Linked DNA regions of Homo sapiens: regions 2 and 3 are each linked to region 1. The links are contacts of gene promoters, found by promoter capture Hi-C in blood cells and fetal thymus (Javierre and others, 2016). All regions are on one chromosome and are shown on one strand. Each heading gives the region's core, a stretch centred on a gene start or on the middle of the fragment in contact. The rest is flanking DNA. Distances are from core to core; before and after follow the strand shown.

Region 1 (3,779 bases), core at 76-2,575:
ATCCAAGCATCAGAGTCTCATGAAAACGAAACTTCAAGAAGCCTCGCAGAGCTGGGGTGGGGGTGGCAGAGGGTGGGGGGGCGTTCAGGCCACACCAGGCAGCAGCAACTGTGCGTGGAATGGCTTTGGCCAGGGCCTGGGCAGACTGGCCCGACTGGATGTAAATTATTCAGGGTCTCGCTTAAAAACACACACAGATCATGGCGTTACTAATTCCTATAGAGAGTCCATGGATGGCCTTCAGTGGGGCTTTGACCCCAAAATCATATGCACATTTTGTAACTATGTTCATTCATGCATTTTTCTGGGGGCCGGGGGTTCATAGCTTTCATCAGACCCTCCAAGAGCTCCCTGACTATAAAAAGATAAAGAAGCGCTGACAAGGATAGAGCTAGACCCTGCTACTGTTTTCCTCCTTCCTCTGGCTGCCGGGACAAAACCCCTAGGAATCGCTCATTCCGTCCTCCCTGCCGAGATCAGAGCTCCGCGACCCGCTTTCTTCTCGAATACACCAAGCGATCACAGATCTCTTCCCCCTTTTTCTGCGAGTGTAGACTCCAGGCTGGCCCCCACTCCCCACCCCCATCCGGTCCCGACCGCCTCTGCTGGTTTCCTGATCGCTTAAGAATTGGAAGTTGTTTCCAGGTCCCCAGGTGTGCAACTTGCCCGACGCGTTTCCCCCTGGGACACAGCTCCTCCCCACCCTCCCAGCTCCCACTGACATAATTTACTTTTGCCTGGGAGTCGGGAGGAGTAGTTTCTCCCGGACCCCTCCGAGGACCGCGTGCTATGCAACACCCGCCCTGCAGTCCAGGCGCCTGGGAGAAGCGCACTCGCCCGTGTCTCCAAACTGCTGGACGCCGCCGGCTCCGCGCTCCCGTGGCCAAAACGGGCTTCTCAGAACTGCTCCTGACCTCGGCCTCGGAGACCCCAGCCAGGCCGCCCGCTCCCTTACGTGGGTGACCCGGGCGCAGCGGCGGCGCTCTCCCTGCGACCCCGGCTCCCGGCACGTGTCCCTCCTGCCCGGCGCCGCGTCCCCTCCCCGGCCTGGGCCTGCGCGCACCGCGCTCCCGAGGGCACCGACGCCCCCGCACGGCCCGGGGAGATGGGGCGCCCGGTTCCCTCCAGCTCCACGTCCCGGCCCCCTTCCAAGTCCCGCCCGGGCGCCCCTGCTCCCAGCTCCCTACCCCGCGTCGCCGGCGGCCGGAGCAGCAGCAGCAGTAGCAGCGCCGGGAGACCGAGGGTCCGGCAGCCGCGCGCCCGCCGCGGGGCCATGGCGGCAGCTCCACAGGACACCGCTGGACTCCCCGGGCGAGCGCTGCCCAGGCCGGGGGGAGGTGGCGAGCGCTGCTCTGGGACCTGCCGCCCCGCCAGTCGCATTCGCTTTCGCTTTTGCTTTGGCCCCCGAGGGCTCGGAGAGGTGCAAAGCGGTGACAGATCCGTGACTCAGCGTCCCCACCCCTGCTGGGGAAGGAGCCCCGCCGGCCGCCGCGGCACCGCACAGCCACCCCTGTCCCCGGGACGCATGGGCCGTGCCCGGTGGGGACCCAGGACCTTACCCACGCAAGCCCGGGAGCCTCCCGGTCCTCCGCGCTCGTCGTGCTCTGGGACCTCCAGTGTGCACTCGGTCCGGTGTCCCCACTGCGAAGAGAGTGGGCAAAGTCATCGGAGAGCAGACTCTCTCCAGCCCTCTCTGCGGCTCGGATCCACTTGACCTCGCCCGGCGCTGGTCGCCTCCAGCTGCTCCGCCTTCGGCTTTCCTGGTCTCCCTCCGCGGCCCTGCGCTCGGTTGTGAGCGGCCGGCCTGGGTGAGTGCCCGCGGAGGTGTCGCCGCGGTGCGGAGGCGCGGGCACCTGCCTGGTGCGCTCTGGCCCGGGCGGAGCGCAGCCCCCGCCACCTGCTGGCTCCCGCGGCCCCCGGCGCCCGCTGGGGCCCCAGCTCCGCCACTTCGCCGAATTCCTGCTGCAGCTTTGCTCCCCTAGAAAATGCCTCATCTTAGAAGGAGAGGGGGCGGAGGGGGGAGAAGGGGGAGAGGAGCCACAGTGCTTCACCTCTGAGCCTCGCTTCCTTAGGTTCTTCCAGGCTGCCATCCTCCTCTTTGGCTGGTGGGTTTTTTTCTTTCTTGGGGTCTCAAGTGAAGCCTGAGAACCGGGTCTGTAAGCTCCCAAGTGCAGATTCTCAGGTCTAGCGGTGACATTGGACAGGACGAGACATCTCCAAGCCTCGGTCATTGCCTCTTAAAATCTCACAACGTGTTTATGAGGCTTTTGTGACATACTTGCAAATTCTCTTTGAAAACGAAATAATCTGTACAATAATCCCCCAAGACACAGGTTTACCTTTATAACAAACCTGCACTTATAACCCTGAACTTAAAAGTTAAATAAAAGAATTTAGGGCCGAGCGCGGTGGCCACTCCTGAAATCCAAGCACTTTCGGAGGCCAAGGCAGGTGGATCGCCTGAAGTCAGGAATTCGAGACTAGCCTGGCCAACATGGTGAAACCCCATCTCTACTAAAAATACCAAAATTAGCTGGGCATGGTGGCGGGCGCCTGTAATCCCAGCTATTCAGGAGGCTGAGGCAGGAGAATCACTTGAACCCAGGAGGCTGAGGTTGCAGTGAGCTGAGATCGCACCACTGCACTCCAGCCTGGGCAACACAGCCAGTTCCTGTCTCTTAAATTTAAAAAAAAAAAGTAGAAAGAATAATGAACCTACCATCCGGCAGTGACCACACAAGGTCCATTCTTTTTTTCTAAGCAGGAATAGCCACCCTTACTCCAACTGGGGAAATCCCACATTATTCAATTTCTCTCAATACTTAATAATAAATCTCAAGATGATAAGATCAAATTTAAAAATTAACAATATTCCTTAATATTCTCAAATATATTGAGGGTTTATTGAATGCAGGCTAAGCATAGCATGTATACAATAGAGCATTTTTTATTCTATGGACATTTATGAAGTAGAGATTTCTCCATTATTACAGACTCTTTGTAAAAGTTTTTAATGGCTGCAAATTATCATAGTTTAACATCCCCTCTATTATTTTAATATTAAAGATAACATTGTCATAAATGTCTTTCTACAAAATCTTGTGAATTTAAGATCGCTTAGAATAGATTTCCTACAGTGGAACTATTGAGTCAACTGGTAGGGAATATTTTTAAAGGCTTTTTCTCTTTTAAACAAATATTTCTATCTTGCTTTCCAAAAGTCTTGTATCAATATACCTTCTAACTAGCATTGATTGTGTTAAAGTACCCATTTTACTGCATTCTGACCAAAAGTAAATTTTAAAATTTGAAAATAAAATTGTAAATTTGGTATGCTTAAAGAACTCTATTTCATTACATATATATACGTTGTTAAATAATGTAAATTTCAAATATACTTCGAACTATAGCAATCAATAAATATAGTGGATATCCATGAGCCTACTGCCTCATCCTGTCAAAACTTAATATGTCTGCTCAATGTTTGCTTCAGATATTTTTTGGAATAAAAAAATTACAGATAAAGTTGAAGCCCCTTTGTATTCTTGCATCTTTCTCTTCCTCCGTCTTCCACTTTCTCGCAGGTAAATGTTTCTTGAAACTGGTACTCATCATTCCCAGGCATTCTTAGGCCCCTTTTCCATGTGTATGTCCATGTGCAACGGACAGGATGGCTTACATTTTTAAAAATTCATGTGATTAAGGCTGGGTGTGGTGGCTCATGACTGTAATCCCAGCACTTTGGGAGGCTGAGGTGGGCAGATCACTTGAGGTCAGGA
Region 2 (3,395 bases), core at 387-2,886, 420 kb after region 1:
TTGTGCTCCCTGCCTAGCCTGGAGCTATTGCTGCGCTCTTGGCAACATCCACCCGGCTGAGCCCAGCAGCCCTTGCCCTGGAGACAGAAATTGCCCCCTTTTTTTTTTCCTTCTTTTTATTTTTTTTTGGCACAGGGTGTGTTGAGACAGGTTGAATAGCCACCCTGGAGTTTTGCCAGAGCCACAAGATGAGGAAGGTCAAGAGGCAGAAGAGAGCAGGGTGAGGAGATGGGGGTGGAGGAGAGGAAGTTTGACATCATGTGGCTTGAATGGCTCAAAATGCTGAAATGCCAGCATTAGTTCAAGCAATTTAGACTTTCAGGAAGCCTGGCCTTTCCCCCTAGAGTCGTTTGTTTAGTCCTGTCTGGTGGGCTTGGCTGGCGGATTCCACAAACTCATGATGAAAAAGTTCTCCAGGCAGAACAGAGATGTGGCCTCCATTCCTACAGGGTAGACAATCAATTCCAAGGGCCCAGCATCTCCTATGAACCCAAGGTCACTCAGATCAAGTCCCCAGGGTGGCAAATGTCTGGCATCAATCGGGGGTTGGGGGGGCGGACACTGAGTTTAGTTCAAGGAAGTATTGCCAGATTTTGTGTGTTCTTCTGTGCCACTGATGGATTTGAATGAATTTGAACATGCTGCACGGTTTGACGCACGTCAGAACTGAAAGAGAAGGCAGAGTCCAGGTGAAGAGCAGGAACGTGGCCAGATTGCCCAAGTTAGAATGGGGCTCTGTTACTAGCCAGCTGGAGATGTCGGCTGCTGACTTGGTGTTCTCTACCTGAGTTTCCTCATTCAACACTGAATCCCCCGGCTCTGCCCTTCTTTCATCTGTAGCCCCAGTACCTTTTAGCAAACTATGTAATTTACTTGTTTGCTATGTTTGTGATTTACTGTCTGTCTTCCTCATCTCCTGCTCTGAAAGGACAGACATCTTGCTTGTTGTGTTTTGATGCATTCCAAGATTCTGGAAGACTTGGAAGACAGCAGGTGGTCCATACACATTTGTTGAATGTGAGTAGTCACAGTACCAACCTCGCTGTGTTGTTATGCAGGTGAGATGACTTAATACTGTCATATACGCAGGGCAGTCCCAGCCCTGAGCAGTGTGCCCTGAACTATATTTCAACACACAGCGAGAGCTGGATCTCTCGAGCAATCCCACGTCCCGTGTCTCGGCAGGCCCAGGACAGTTCTGCTTTTAACCTGTTTCCTGGAGTAATTGCTAACAGTGCTTCCTTTCAGAAAAAAAAAAAAAAAGGCTCATTTTAGCTAGTAAATTATATGGTTTGGCTACATGTAAGTGTTTTTACTCATTCATTTAAGAAACTGAAAAAAAAAAAAAAAATCTGCCAGCTGGCATGCACCTACAGTCCTGGGTGCTCGGCAGGCTGAGGTGGGACGATGCTTGAGCCCAGGGGTTCAAATCTAGCCTGGGCGACATAGAAAGACCCCACTTCTACAAAAAGCAGAAGAAAGAAAGAAAAAATATTGAATGGGTACCATGTTAGATGCTAAGAACAACGACCATAGTTCGTTCCCTTTTAGAGCTTACTGTCTTCTGGAGAACTTGCAAAATTAAATAATTCAAATTTAAAACTGTTGGAACTTTATTCTGAGCCTTGAGAGAAATGGACTGAGTCACATAGCATGCCGTTGCAACTTCTGCTTTTTCCCGTAAACGATTAGGAATGACCGAGTAGCACCAGAAATAAGACCCTCTGAGTGGTGACCCCTCAGAACATTACTCTTGTCCTCACAGAACATTACAGCCATCTTCCATGGAATGGAGCAAGCCACCCTAATCAAATCGCTATGACATGTATCTAGCCTTGCACGGAAAACATTGCAACCTGCCGAAACCATCTCTACCTATGTAAGCACAGCCTTAGCTTCCCCACTTTAGAGCATGTCCCTTTGGGGTCTGTGTTTTCCGGGTGACCGTTCTCAAGCTCTGTACTCAAATAAACCCCATACTTCATCATATTTTCTGTATCACCTTATTTAAGGTCAACAAACTTTAAGGACATAATTAAGTAGACAACCTCATGACTTGAACACATGGTTAATAGTAATAATTGGATTGACATCCATATAGTTCTCCTCTGTTTTAGGAGAGGGCTGGTTTTTTTTTTTTAAATATTGATCCATTTTCGTGCTTTGTATAGTAACCCAATGAGGTAGAAGTGATTACCGCCACCCTTTTACTGATTACAACACCTGGGGTTCTGAGCGCCAGCCACTTGGTGAGGATTGCGGGGCCAGGGCACTCTGGTCCCAAAGCTCTGATTCCCACGGGCTTTCCTGCTGAGTCACGCTGTCTGCTGGGAGCTGTTGACCCGCCGTCTCTTTCTCTGACTTCCACCCGATAATTCTACATGGCTCTGCAATAAGCAGCTTTTTTCTTATTATTTCCTACAAATACATAGGTTACACTCTGATTAAAGGCAGAATACACATCTTGAATTAAGGGGAAGGCTGAAGCCTGGAATTCTTCCCATCTCTAATCCTGCCTGGTCACTGAAGTTCCTGAGTCCTCAGCTCAGGTCTGAGGCAGCCCTGCCCAGCAGGGACGGAAACTGCAGCTTTTTCATGTTCCTCTGCCTCCCTCTAGTGACTCAAGTCCAAAATAGTGCGGCTGGGAACTATTGGAAGAACACAGACGCTGCAAAGAAGCTGGAAACCATCATTCTCGGCAAACTAACACAAGAACAGAAAACCAAACACCGCATGTTCTCACTCATAAGTGGGAGTTGAACAATGAGAACGCATGGACGCAGGGAGGGGAACATCACACACCGGGGCCTGTTGGGGGATTGGGGACTAGGGGAGGGATAGCATTAGGAGAAATACCTAATGTTGATGGGTGCAGGAGACCACCATGGCACGTGCATACCTATGTAACAAAACTGCGTGTTCTGCACATCTACCCCAGAACTTAAACTATAATTTTAAAAAACCCCAAAAGAGTGCAATTTCAATGCCAAAAAAAAAAAAAAAAAAAAAAGCTGAGCTTCATCTATTCCTTCCGCTCTTTCCTCCCTCACGCCTACCATGTGTGAAGCACTGTACCCAACATGAAGGACACAGACAGAAAAGCCTGACTCCGCATCTCCCTGCTCGGGTTGCCTTGGCAACTTCTCCGTGTACCCAAAGAAGCAAAGGGGACTTAACAATTTCAAAGAAGAGTGGCAGTAACTACTTTTTCTGTTCCGAGCTTTCTTGTATAAAGTGAAGCACTGTGTGGCCTTTAAGAGTTCTATTAAGGGCCGGGCAGGGTGGCTCATGCCCGTAAATCCCAGCACTTGAGGTCAAGAGTTCGAGACCAGCCTGGCTAACATGGCAAAACCCCGTTTCTACTAAAAGTACAAAAATTAGCCAAGTGTGGTCGT
Region 3 (3,739 bases), core at 242-2,741, 450 kb after region 1:
GTTGGGGTCTCTGGGTGTCAGGAGGATGCTGGGTGCTGGGGCAGGGGTATGTGGGAACCCAGAGTGAGGAGAGGACGACTGGAAGGAAAATGGGGTAGAGCTGCCCCCAGGCCTGCAGCGAGTGGAATCCACGAGTGTCTGTGTTTTGGAAAGTGTTGCTCACTGACCTTTTAACTTTGCAGGATTTTGATTCAGATTTAGAACCAGAAAGCGCTCTAGTGAGGACTTTAGATAGCGTCTTCACCAACCCCATTGCTCTAGTGAGAAGGGACTTTAGATAGCGTCTTCACCGACCCCATCACTCTAGTGAGACGGGACTTTAGACAGCATCTTCACCTCCATTACTTGGAGGCCCCAAAAGATGAAATGACTTGTTCAGGGCTTCACAGCAAATGCAAAGCAGAGCAGAGATCAGAACAGAACGGGCGGCTCCCTGCCCTCCACTGGCCCATCCAGGGCCTTAAAGGACCCTCTCCCTCCTTCAAGCAGGTGAATTTGGTAAACATGTGTGAGCATTTTCATTTGGAGCAAGGGGAGGACAAGTGTCGCCTTCTCACATAACTAGAGGTTTGTAGTCATGGTGCTATTTTCAGAACAAAGGGCCCGGACACCTGAATGGACACATCTGAAGATAGATGCCCATCCTTAAATGAGGTTACTCGTGTTCATTTTAGGGGAGTGTCTATTTAAAAAAAATCACAAGAGCTCCGTATAGTCAGGAAAATGTTCCAGCACACCTGCAGACTGTCAACAGTCTGCTTATATTAATTATTCTATTTTAAATATAATATCTAAAGTTATTTCCAGCCATGTGATGAGGTAGGCTAGTGACTCCGAATATTATGCAGACTTGCTTTTCTTACAATTGCCTTAATGTCATCTGACTTCCTCACCCTTTGTCTTACTCTACTCCTGCCTCAGCCTCCCAGGTAGCTGGGATTATAGGCCCCCGCCACCACGCCTGGCTAATTTTTGTATTTTTAGTAGAGACAGGGTTTCACCATATTGGCCAGGCTGGTCTCGAACTCCTGACCTTAGGTGATCTGCCCACATTGGCCTCCCAAAGTGCTGGGATTACAGGCGTGAGCCATCGTGCCCAGCCAATCCCCCAACTGTAAAACATCATCTCAATGCTAGCTACATTTTGAGGACTGACACAGCAGAAGCAAGTTCTTGTGGGGGGCAAGCGGGGAAGTAAACGATTAAGAGGACTCTTTTTTTTTTTTTATTCCATTTTTACACATCCACCTGTTTGCCATGAAGTCACAACATTTTATCAAAATATACACACAGCACAAATACCTTTAAAATGTATGGTTGGAATTCTAATTCAACTCAATTGACTGCTGCAAACAGCATGCATGGGCCATTGATCTTGAATGATGCCTACGGAGGGGCTTATGAGTCATGAAATCACCAGTCATGGCACGAGAAGGGGTTAAGGTTCTTTTCCCAGGAGACTTATGCACTTCATTTCTTTTCTTGTTATAGTGTGAGAATGGCAGTGAGTGACTGTGCCAATACTGGAGTCTGCTGAGAATGGGTGGATGGAAAGGTTTTTACTGGCAAGGGTGAAATGATACTATCTTTTCTATCTTGACAAGATAACAAGCGAAGGTGTCTAGCAAACCTTCCCTCTCACTTTCCACTTGTCCTCTTGACCATGGATTTCATGCCCAATCAGGATGAATGGATTTGTAGATCTCAAGTTACAAGCTATGTTTATTGTAAAGAATTCCCATAAAAACCTATCCAGGGCTGGCCCCCCAGCCATTTACACATCCACAGATAGGAATAGAATAAAACGGGTTAGTGATTACTTGTCTGCGGCTGAGTGAGATCCGCTACTAGACCAGGCAATGGGGCCGTTTCAGTCTTGAGACGTCTGTACTCCGTTTGCCCCTGATTCAACAAGCATTTCATTGATCAGCAGTTGGCGCCCAGGTGAAGAGCCATAATTTATTGCAGTATCAAGTCTTGAAACCTTTCCAAGTGCGGAGACCCATCTTTCAAGTAAATAACTATGGTTAGTAATGACCTAACTTCAGGAGCGTCTGTGAGACATGTCAGGAGACGAGACACACGGCATCGTCATTAGTGAAGTAGACTTGGTTTCTGCTACAGATAAAAGTCACATGGGGGCGAACGGGTCTCAGTCTTTATTGTTGAGTGTTTCTTTCTTTTTCCAAGTTGAAAAAGGAACCCAAGCAGTGTCTCTTGAACCAGTTCCCAGGGAGAAGGCAAATTCTTTCCTGTCTCTGGAGGGGCAAGATTCAGGATATCAGCCGCTCCATCCCGGGGTTCATGAAGGAAAAGTTCCTGAACATATTCTGGTCCATGCTGTTGATCAGTGCTCTGTCGGCAAATGACAGCCGGGGCTTCTCGTTTAAGAATTCTTTGTCGAAATTGCTGCAGTCAAATGGTGATTTCTTAGTCAGAGTTTAAGGGAAGAAAGAAAGAGAAGAAAAATCAGCCATTAAGTTCATGATCTTCACTTTTGTTATCTAGGCCGTGATCTGCGTATGGCAAAGTTGGTGTTTGCAGAGACACTAAATGGAGGCAATGCCTACAGATGACCATGCCCAGCTCTCATTGAACATGGCTGTGATCCTGTGTCCTCAGCTTAATAATAATATAAATTCATAAATTCACAGAAAGACTACGACTGTAGACATTCAAATGGGATCTAATGTTTCTAATGGTTTACATGAAGCAGGGTTGGCAACCTTTGAAAAAGTGATCCACCTGAATTTGACCTCTGCCTCTTCAGTTTTCATGGAACACAAGGTGGGGATAAGGGAGGGTGGTGGGGAGAGGGAGTGAGGGGGTGTGAGCGGAGGGATGGGAAGAGAGAAGGAATTTCACAATTACATATTCCTGTTCTTTTATCAACGTTCTTGGCTGTTGTCAGTCCCCTGCCCTTGTTAATTTTATTAGTAAGTATCTTGGGCTTTTTTAGACAGCACAGACTGGGACAGACTCCTTTCAGACCACTTGGTCCATTGGTTTTCATGGCAAAAAAACCAAAACCAAACCAAACAACAGAGAAAGGGAAAGCAAACATCTATTTCATACATGCTGTTCAGTATGGTGTTCAATTCAGTGTCCCAAGATTGAGAACAACCATTATCAACAGAAAGTGCTATGAACACAGAGAAGCGAAATGAAGAACCAGGCCCCTCCCACCCTCCAAGGGGCCCTGGGGCTGTGAGGTCAATGGCAGCTCAGACCACAGGTCAGGGAAAGTTTCCTACTGGCAGAACTGGGAATGTCCTTTAGGGTAAGCTTAGATCAAAGTTTTGATTTTTATGTGCAAAATATTAAGTCAATTTTAATCTGCAGTGGAAGGTGAGACATGGTTTAATAGTTCTGATAGCTAAAAACAAGGTAAAATTTTTATTTTATCACAAATGACTAACCCACGTATTAGATGTGGTTCTGTCACAAGTAATTAGAGTGCTTGAGGCTGGCCTGTTGGGTCCTTGGAACATCACTGGAGCTTGGGACAGATGTTGAGAACAACTATTCTTGCCCTGGGAATGAGATGCACCTGCTTCTTCTGGCCATTCGCTATCATGACTAATAGCCTGTGCGTTCTCTGGGGTGGAATCTGTTGGGAAGTCCATGAGCCTGGCCCCCTTCAGCACGGATATGGCCCATGTCTATCCAGGCAATCACAGGGAATGGTTAAGGCTGGCAAACCCACAACTTTGCTCTACTCTTTTAAAAATCATTATTT

The links. The method cuts DNA at HindIII sites, captures the fragments that hold promoters and counts their contacts. A CHiCAGO score of 5 or more calls a contact.
Region 2: a fragment that was not itself captured here is called in contact with the fragment with the promoter of IL15RA in region 1 in 7 of 17 cell types (naive B cells, M1 macrophages, total B cells and 4 more); the score reaches 6.6 in naive B cells.
Region 3: a fragment that was not itself captured here is called in contact with the fragment with the promoter of IL15RA in region 1 in 1 of 17 cell types (non-activated CD4 T cells); the score reaches 5.5 in non-activated CD4 T cells.

What each region holds. Positions count from the first base shown.
Region 1 is chr10:5,976,218-5,979,996 of GRCh38, forward strand. It overlaps IL15RA (interleukin 15 receptor subunit alpha), which reads right to left and starts at 1,326. Exons shown (of 7, transcript NM_002189.4): 1 at 1,188-1,326. The coding sequence starts at 1,275. RefSeq lists an enhancer at 1-59 and silencers at 950-1,329, 1,420-2,089. The HindIII fragment of the contact is 10,589 bases long and covers 1-3,779 here.
Region 2 is chr10:6,399,384-6,402,778 of GRCh38, forward strand. LOC124902370 (a long non-coding RNA gene) reads right to left here. Exons shown (of 2, transcript XR_007062044.1): 2 at 1-2,418. It also overlaps a transcript of PRKCQ not described here. Among named protein-coding and RNA genes, the nearest start is that of LINC02656, 51 kb to the left of the region's middle. The HindIII fragment of the contact is 5,114 bases long and covers 1-3,395 here.
Region 3 is chr10:6,425,934-6,429,672 of GRCh38, forward strand. PRKCQ (protein kinase C theta) reads right to left here. Exons shown (of 18, transcript NM_006257.5): 18 at 1,215-2,429. The coding sequence ends at 2,274. Among named protein-coding and RNA genes, the nearest start is that of LINC02656, 77 kb to the left of the region's middle. The HindIII fragment of the contact is 3,583 bases long and covers 1-3,283 here.